Regions from separate parts of the Homo sapiens genome. Here region 1 is linked to region 2. Evidence: promoter capture Hi-C in human tissues and cell types (Jung and others, 2019). All regions are on one chromosome and are shown on one strand. The core of a region is centred on a gene start or on the middle of the fragment in contact, and the rest is flanking DNA. Distances in the headings are between cores, read along the strand shown. Region 1 overlaps RIMBP2 (RIMS binding protein 2). Region 2 holds the start of RIMBP2 (RIMS binding protein 2).

What was found. The method cuts DNA at HindIII sites, captures the fragments that hold promoters and counts their contacts. A contact is called where the count stands out against the background at its distance.
Region 1: a fragment that was not itself captured here is called in contact with the fragment with the promoter of RIMBP2 in region 2 in 3 of the 25 tissues and cell types used here (H1 embryonic stem cells, dorsolateral prefrontal cortex and heart left ventricle).

Annotation. Positions count from the first base shown.
Region 1 is chr12:130,418,143-130,422,584 of GRCh38, forward strand. RIMBP2 (RIMS binding protein 2) reads right to left here. Exons shown (of 23, transcript NM_001393629.1): 17 at 4,311-4,419. It also overlaps a transcript of PIWIL1 not described here. Among named protein-coding and RNA genes, the nearest start is that of PIWIL1, 82 kb to the left of the region's middle. The HindIII fragment of the contact is 6,443 bases long and covers 1-4,442 here.
Region 2 is chr12:130,712,869-130,717,578 of GRCh38, forward strand. RIMBP2 (RIMS binding protein 2) reads right to left here and starts at 3,431. Exons shown (of 23, transcript NM_001393629.1): 1 at 3,354-3,431. The HindIII fragment of the contact is 10,761 bases long and covers 1-4,710 here.

The sequences.
Region 1 (4,442 bases), core at 1,291-3,790, 300 kb before region 2:
ACTTTGGCTGCAGGAAAGGTTGAATTTTAAAATGCAATGAATTGTTTACATTATTGAGATTCAGAGTCTTTTTTGAATGCCTAATCTAAAATGTCAGTAATTTCTGCCAGGGAACAAACCTTTTCCACAGCAGCCTTCATTAATTTCTCCAGGCTGTTATGATTTTGTTGATAGTCCATGAAAAAACCTGACTTTTTTCTAGTTTCAAGTGGTATCTGAGTTCAATAGAATGTGAAGCGCTCCATGGCCTCTACAACAGGCACAGCTGTGCAGCCCCTGCTCACACCCAGGGATGATGGTGGAGAACAGCTGTGGCTGCATGAGAAGGACGCCTGCTTTCCATTCTGCTGGAGATCTGCTGGAGGAACTTAATGACCATGTCAGTGTGATCTAGTGAATGCAGTTCCAGGTACGGAAAAATGCCAGTGGAGGAGAACCTCTGGCTACACCATTTTCCAAGCAAGTTCTCAGCACTTCCCAGCTGAGTTTATGTGGCAAGTTTGTGGCATCAAAACGTGCAGAGGGGTCAGGGGCTAAGGTCAGATTCTAGAGAGAGTTGGGTGTGGTCAACATACCCCTTGAAAATCTTTCAGGTCCCTCCTATAGCCTACGTAAGAGTGCATTTTCTCAGTAGGTGGCTTATACTCAAGGACCATGATCTGTGAAAACATCTTTGTGTCTTCAAGTCCAAACTCACATGGACCATGCAACTGGCCACACCACGGGAGGCATTTAGGCAGACACCCCAACACAGAGCTGCCTGAGGCCAGTCCCCCAACGAAGGCTCCTTCCAGAGAACTGCCCACAATGTCACGTTGTTTTGGGGGGAAGACAGGTGTGGGGTAGAGGTGGGTGGAGCACTTGGAGTTGAACGTATGTGAATAAAATCAGCGTATGCGGTGACTCCACCGTATGTTCTTCCAGAGAGGATGCACTGGATGTGTTATGAGCACCAAACCTCGACAGGGAAAGAGTAGCAGCCTCCCTGGAATGTGTCCATGGAAACTTGGCTTCACTGCAGACTGGACTGGGCAGTTGGGGGTCCCTTGTCCTTGGTGATGGCAGGCGAGACTGAAAGAAGCACTTACCTACAGCTGTCTGTCTGACCCTGGGGGGAGTGGGCACTGCCTCCCATCCTGCTGAGGAAGTGTGCTGGCCCAAGGGGTCTTTGTTAGGAGGAAGGGTGTGCATATCGTGTGGGAGATCAGGGCTCATGCCTGGACGCCTGGGTGGGCTCCCAAATCCACTGGTGCCATAAGAATAAGCACCGTCTTCTACAGGAGAGAGGTTTCCCTCACTACCTGGCCCAGACCGACTGCCCTCACTGCTACTGTCCGTTGTAATTTCTATGGAGATAAAGGGAATCATCTATTAAACAGAGTTGACAGCTTTTGATTTTTTTTATTGCAGGGAAACCTGAAGAAAAGAGCTCCCCTTTTTAAGGGGCAAAGCTTTGTCAATAGAGTTACTAATGTTTTTATTTTTCCTCCCTGGACACAAAGAAAACACGCTGGACTTTCCTCACTTTGTAGGCTCAGTAGCCAAAATAACAAAAAATGGGAGAATACAGAGGAGATATTCAGAGTTGATTCCTAAGAACAGAATCCTCTTGAACGTGGTGCTTCGGTTTTAGAAGAGTGAAGCTACAGGCCTTCTGTCTGACAGGTCAACAACTAGATAAATGCAAAGACCAAAAGTTATAAAGGATAAAAATCAAACCTAATTAAGTATATATTTGAAGCCACATAATTTTGTTTTTTAATCATGAAGGACATTTTTTAAATTTTGGAAATCCAGAAAATATTAAAATTTATATTATTTTTCATTGTAGGTCCACTGCTTATTAAAAATAGGAAGTGTATGGTTTACAGACTTAATTTCCTCTGAAAAAGATAAGTAATCCTTTGAAATATAGATTTCTAAAATATTGTTTTCTAGTATTTTCACAAGAAAAATAGAAGTAAATGACAACTAGAGGAATATCCTGTCTGTTCAGCTGTCACTGATGTTCATTTCCCAAAGCTCTTTGCCGAGTCCTCCTCCTCCTCAGGTGGGTGATAAGCACCCTCCGCTTCTGTTTCCTTTTGAAACCATAATAGGTGCTGAGATGTGTATTTGTGTGTAAAGTATCTGGTTAGAGTTATTTTATGTGGTGTCCCGGCTTGCTACATGATAAGAAGTCAGCACAATTAAAGCAAACCTATCATAGGTTTGTCAGTTAACTCTTTTCTGAGTTATGTTCAGAGGCTTTTTCCTTGTTAAGGTGTTGACATAGATTTGCTCTTTCACCCAATTTAACAAGTGTGCTACTGAAATTAAGACACGCATGCAGCCTTTGGAATTCTACGGCTTCAGAAAAATCCAACCACATTCATCAAAAGTAGTTTCATTTGGGAAGGGTTTTTATGATACTAATAAAACTTTAAAGCTTCTCACTGCTGATGAATGCAGTTTTAAAAAAAAAGTCTCAACAATATACAGCCATTTGAAAAGCAATACTGATCTAGGAAAATAGCAAACCAAAGCGGAGACAAAAAATAATTATTTAAGCCAATATTGAGTCTAAGTCCAAGCAACAAGACAACCCAGGACAGTAGATTTAAACCAGACTCTGACAGCGAGGGTCACCCTGGCAAGACTGCAGGCCCAGGGTTGGTTTTCTTGGACTTCCTGGCTCAAGTGCTGATTTGTCACAGCACAATTTTCAGTTCTCAGTCCTAGGAGACTGGAGTAGAAGACCTACCATGCCTCTTCCAAAGGACGTCCTTTCTGAGCGCCTACAGCATTAACTTCTCAGCGGCTACACCATCCCCAGGTCACTTCCTGAGCCATGCTTGCAGTCTTCACTCATTAAAGTTACAGTCAAATGAAGACTCGAAATCTCACCCTAACCACAGAGAGAGAATGAGAGCCTTGAACAGGGGGATTGGCCTTTTCCCCACATCGTTTCTCAAGGCAGGACATCTCGGACAGGTCATTTAACATGAAAGCCAGGAGAACCGATTTATTAAGCTCCATAGTCCCTCCAGAGGGAACGACACACGAATTGAATGAAGATTTGAGAGACACACACTAGGTTTAGAATACCCGAAAGGAATCTGGGCTCCACTAACCCTGCTAGCTGATCTGTAATAAGTGCCATCAATGTTCTGTGAGCCTGACTGCATCTTTTATTACTCAGTTAACTGAAAATACGGTTTCCTAAGGATCTTTAACATTGCATGAAATTTTTACCAGAGAAACATAAACACAATCTAAAAGCTGTGAAGATGGAATTTTTTTCTTATTGTTTGAATTGTACAAGGAAGAAAAAGTCTGGCAGGACACAATTTCAAAGAATCTGTTTTGCTTTATGAAGCCTTTCTTCATTTTGAATTGATGGAAAAGACCAATGGCCTTTTAAACTTCAGCTATTTCAACGAGATTCCAGGTGGCTTTTCAGTGGCCTAGACTATCCAGAAGTTATCCTCCTTGAGCCCTGTCATGCCAAACCAAGACGGTTTCTCCTCATCTATTTCTGCTGTATCAAGAGTTCTCCCTGCATTTATATGTGTGTGTGTGTGTGTGTGTGTGTGTGTGTGTTTTCATAGAAGCCTGGTTCCTCTGTGCTGATGACCAGCTTCCATTATCTTGTGCATAATACTTTTTGGAATTCTCCTTGCCATGATTGATTCCAATAATAGAAGTATCCCCCTCCATGGATTGATTAGGATGACTAAAACGATAGCTTTCAGCATGGCTGGCTGAATTCCAAAAAGTCAGGAAGAGAATGGAAACGGAATGCCAGATGACGACTCATGAGCAAGGGAGGTGCCCAGATGGATGTGGGGAGCACACATTTCAGGGGCACACTCAGCTGCACGGTGTCCCCCAGGATTTAGCTCTGCTGCCAGCGTGTCTTCTGCAGACAGGCAGCATTCCCTCGGGTGGGGCTCACAGACCCCTGAGGCACGCTGACATCCAGCTTCTGCACCTGCCATGGACTGTGACCCTGAGTGTCCCAGGGAGCCCATGCCAGGATGAGGGAGGTGACACAAAGTGGTCCCCCCTTCAGTGCTTACCCTGTGAAGCTCTCCAGGAAAAAATCAGCTGGGAGAACATGGATGTAGAAGGCCAATTTGATATTTCAAGAATACTTACAAATAGCTTTCATTTATCTTGTGCTGTTCCTGCCTTCTTTTTGCCATGAATAACAGTGTTCTTTGCTTAGCGGAAAATGCTACTCCTAAAGTTTTGTTCATGCTTAGATGGAGTAAGCAGCCACATGCTCCGCGGCTGAAAGACACAACAGCGATGATGGGGCCACTAACCGATGGATGGGACTGTCACGGGCCGGGACCTCTGAGGACCAGCGCTGCCACGGGGAAACCTCCGGCCCATGTGATCCACCCGTCCTGCAGAGGCTGGGTTCCCTAAAATCTAAAGACAAAACAACAACAAAG
Region 2 (4,710 bases), core at 2,181-4,680:
GTCTGTTCTAATCGCACAGCCACCGCAGTACGCATGGTCTTCACTGATGGAAATGTCCTTCTTATGCAGGGCGTCATCTGGGAGATTTTCTTCAAGGAAAGATGGATCCACACAGGAGCGTGGCCCAGTGGTGGACACAAGCAGGGGTGAGTCAGAGAGAGAGACTGAGAGAGGGAGAGGAGGAATGAGGGAGGGAGGGAGACTGAGAGAAAAGGAAAGAAAAAACAAAGAGGGAGAGAAAAGGAGAGAAAGAGAGGGAAGAAGGGGACAGAGACTGAAAGAAACGGAATAAAAGAGTGAGAGAAGAAGGAAGGAAGGAAAGAAGGAAGGAAGGAAGGAAGATAGGAAGGAAGGAAGGAAGGAAGGAAGGAAGGAAGGAAGGAAGGAAGGAAGGAAGGAAGGAAGGACTGAGGAGTATGGTTCAGTGAAACCTTTGCACACAAGGGTGGTGGCACCAGCATCACCAACAAGAGATGCAGGTGTCCTCAGCTGGTTGCCCTTTGCACACAAGGGTGGTGGCACCAGCATCACCAACAAGAGATGCAGGTGTCCTCAGCTGGTTGCAAGCCTCCTCCCACACCATAGGGGATCAGACAGCTTTTCAAATGGGTGAAAGTCAAAAGAGAAACTGAGGACATAAGCCATGCACTACCACTATCTACACGGGATGAGGTAAGTGGAGAACAGAGTTTTCTGGAATCAGCAGCTCTGCTTGATCAACAAGAGACCAGCACAGCCGATCCGGTTCTCCCCCGGGTTCCCAGCACCACGCGGATTCCAAACCTTGGGGCAGAAGTGGGAAACACTGAGACGTTCAGCCGGCAAGTCTCCGCCCACCTGGAACAGATGCTCATTGCCGTGCCCTAGGGAGACTCCCGGACACAAAGGAAGCTCCCGGGTCAGGCCCTCTGGTCCCTGAGGTTTGGCACTTGCGGGTCTAGACCAACCTATGAGGCGTGCACTCAGCTTCATGTATGACCTCAGCCAAAGGCCAACAGAGAGCTGGCAACATGCCCCAGAGATGCGTAAAGCGCCTCCTGGTCACGCTGTATTCAAGGATCCTCAAAGTGGGGTCCCTGGATGCCTCCACCTCCCCTGGGACTGCGTGGGAATGCGGATTCCCGGCTCCTCCCCAGACCTGCTGGATCAGAGGTTCTGAGATTTGTAGCCCCTTAACCCACCCGCCAGGATGCCAGCGCTCACCAACGTGTGAGAATCGCTGCTCCAATTAAAACTTCAACCAGACTCCAAAAATACAAACGTGGCAGGGGGTGGATTTGAAATGGAAAGCGAAGCAAGCTCAGGAAAGAGCCAGCTCCTGCCTCTCCTCCCGCCCCCTGAGCACATGCTGGTCTCTTCCAGGCGCCAACAGTGCATGGGGCCAAAGAGATGAAACTGAAAGCTACAGTGTAGGGCCCACCGCTTGTCTTTTCATCTTCATGGCCAGGAGCTCTCAGCCCGGCTGCACGCTGGCCTCACCTGGGAGGCTTCTCCACCACCCACGCCCACCCCCGGACTCTGCAGGCTTGGGGTTCTCTGCCGGGCTTGCAGCATGGGGGAGGCCGGCTGCTATGCCCCGGGGAGGGCTGCGTGGCGCCTGCCTCCTGCGTGGGGGGCGGCCCCCATAGCGCCAGCATCTTCCTGTCTCCCGGGCACGTGGGCAGTGCCACCCTCTCCCTGACCCAGTTTGCCATCCTCTAGGAAGGGGCACGGGGGAATAGCCGCTGCCAGCGCCTTCCCTGAAATAACCTGGAAGGGCTCCACTCTGGGCCCCAGGCGGCTGCCATATGGCCACGGCACAGCCCTCGACCCCAGGCACGCCCCACCACCCCCCACTGCAGAAGGGGTGCCCGCCGGCCTTCCCCTCACACCGTGCCCCCAGGGAACCTCCGGAGCCGGTCAGACCCTGCCCATCCCACTGGGAGCTTGGGATCATGTCTCACAGGACAAGCCAAGACCCCACAGCCCAGCGGGGGATGAGTCTGAAGCTGATTCCCGGACAGCCCAGCAAGGCTGGGAGGGAGCCAGGGAGGGGCCATGTGCGTGGGGGAGGTGGTGATTTTTTAGAGCCTTCCCCCACTGTTCCCCTTAGAAACCGGGTGAGTGAGCCTGCACGCCAGCTCCCCTCCCCTGCCCACTCCTGCTCAGAGCCCAGCAGCCTGGCCTGCCGCAGGGCCCAGAGCCCGGACACCTCCTCTTCCCACCGATCTTCCATTTTCAGAGGGAGCCGCTCTCCCTCCTCTCAGGCCTGCTCCATCTGTGACATTTCCCTTCCCTGGACGAAGTGGGGTTTTCACCCTTGTGAGCAGAGTCTCCTTCAGGGCTCCTCCGTGAGAGAAATATGGGGCTGGACAGGGTCCCCTTCCCTCCCTCCTCACTCACCCTAAGAACCTCCAGGGACCCAGAGGCCACGCAGGCACGGAGCCAGCACCCCCGCCTCCCCCGGGGCCAGTGACCAGGCCGGGAGGTGAAGCAGTCCTCCCTCCCTCCGGCCAGCCGCCACCCCGACCTCAGCCAGCGTGCGCTCCCCGGGGACAGGAGGGAGGCTGCTTCCACCGAGGCCTCTGCTGACAGATGTCCGGGCCCCCACCTGGACCTACCCAGACCTAAGCTCCTGGGCGGGTGGTCCCGTACGCGCTGCCTTTCCCGGTGAAATACGGTTTCCACTGGGAGAGTCTGCCCCCGGCCAGCAGCCCGCGCACACTGCTCACACAGGCACACGCATGCACGCACACACTCTGCCGGGGAACATCTGTTTTGACAAACACATTATTCAAGTCAGTCCATGGGACGTGAATTGACAGATTCCTGGGCGCAGCCTGCGGGCTTTGTGCATTTGCACCTGAGCCGAGCTGGGGACTCTGATGTGTTTGTCCCACGTCCCCTTCCCCCCCTCCACCCCGCCCCCAAGAAGACAAGTCCAGGCCCTGAGCCGCTGCTGTCTGAGAAGCCTGGGGCGCACTCCCCAGGCGAGCGGGGCCGTGTCCATCGGGTGCCAAACTTTGCCTGGAGGGGCCTTTCTTAAAAGCCTGGGGTGGGGGCCATGACAGAGCCACAGCACCCCTGCAGCTGACACCCGGCACCCAGGAAGAAGCCCGTCAGCCCTTCCCTTCCGAGACGATCCTGAATTCCAAGCAGCACCGACATGCCAGCAGGGCGAGCCGCTGCTCCCCGCACCCAGCGCCCCCGGACCCCACGCTGAAGGGCATTCTCCATCCGCTGCAAGATAAACTTTGTCTGGGCAAAGAGTTTCCGGCTAACCCCCTGTGATCAACGCCGCTGCAGCTCGGGTGCAGAAAGGCGAGGGGAGACGGGAAGCTATTTTTAGGAGAAAAAAATAAATCTCAGCCTACCTTTAGAAGCGAGCTGTGCCAAGGCTCCGGAGGTTCACCTCGGAGACAACTGCAGTGTACTGTGTCAGATTACAAACTGGGGGCGAGACGGAGGGAGGGAGGAGGGGGAGAGGGAGAGAAGGAGGGAGGGAGGAGGGGGAGAGGGAGAGAGGGAGGGAGGGAGCAGCAGAGGGAGAGACAGGGAGCGAGAGGCAGGCAGAGGCGGCGCCCAGTCAACATTGCAGGGCATTGGTGTGTCTGCACTGCTTGCATTCAGCTAGACATGATTCATTAGTTTTCTGCAGGCAGGCAAGCAGGTCGAGAGGGAGAGAGGGAGGGAGAGAGAGGGAGAGAGAGAGGATCATCCGCCATGCAGCAGTAACCAGAGCCTCTGAAACGTCAGTGTTTGAACGCACACACACACACACACAAATACACATGCACACACACGTGCGCATACACACACCAAGATGGCTATACCCCTCACTGCCAGTTTCTTTCACAGAGCTGTGGTGAAAAGCTCGGACAGAGATGGAGGCAAACAGCTCTCAGCCATGCGGGGCTTGGGGTTGGTGCTTTTCTCTCCATCCCTGGGAAAACAGCACAGGATCTTCCCTGCAGGAGGCCGGGGGTCTCCTGCAACCGACAGGCAACCGATCAGCACATCAAAGTAAAAGCTGCCCTGGGCTCTACTCCAGGAAGCTCAGAAACTCAAGCGCCCTCAGAATTAAGTGATGAAGAGGAGCGACCCAAGCTGCCTGGGTCTTTGCTCTCCTGTCCGGCTCCCCTCCCCACCCCAAGCCTCCAGTGGCCCCGCAGATTCCCCCTTCCCACAGAACTTCAGGTGGTGGCACAGATATACCCGCTACCTAGCAACCGGGTGGTGCAGGAGGGAAAAAACCCTGGGAAACACGCACGGACTTCACACACTTGCTTCCTTCCCTGGGGTAAAAATCCCATGGCTTGTTACTGAAAGGTGCTGAATAAGATAGCTCATGCGGAGGAAAGCCCCTTTGGTATTTTGGGCTCCACATACCCTAATTGAGGCTCTGAGGGCTCCTACTAATGATGGCCCTGTGCAGGGACAAGACTCGAGTGTAGGACACGAGAATTCCAAGGAAGGGCTCACCACGGGTCCTTTGTACAAAAAGGAAGGACTTGTCCCGAGGTGCTTTCTGTTGCTTCTCCAATTAAGGCTCACTTTACAAGTTTTTTAAAAAATGGGCTCCTTAGTAAAACCAACACATCCTACCATCACCGTGGTTTTGCTTGTGATCTTAAAGGAATCGCAAAGGTCTCAAACCTAGACAGCCAGAGGAAACCTCTTCCCAAGACAACTTTTTCAACACTGTGGCAGACGGGTCCAGCGAGTTTTCCC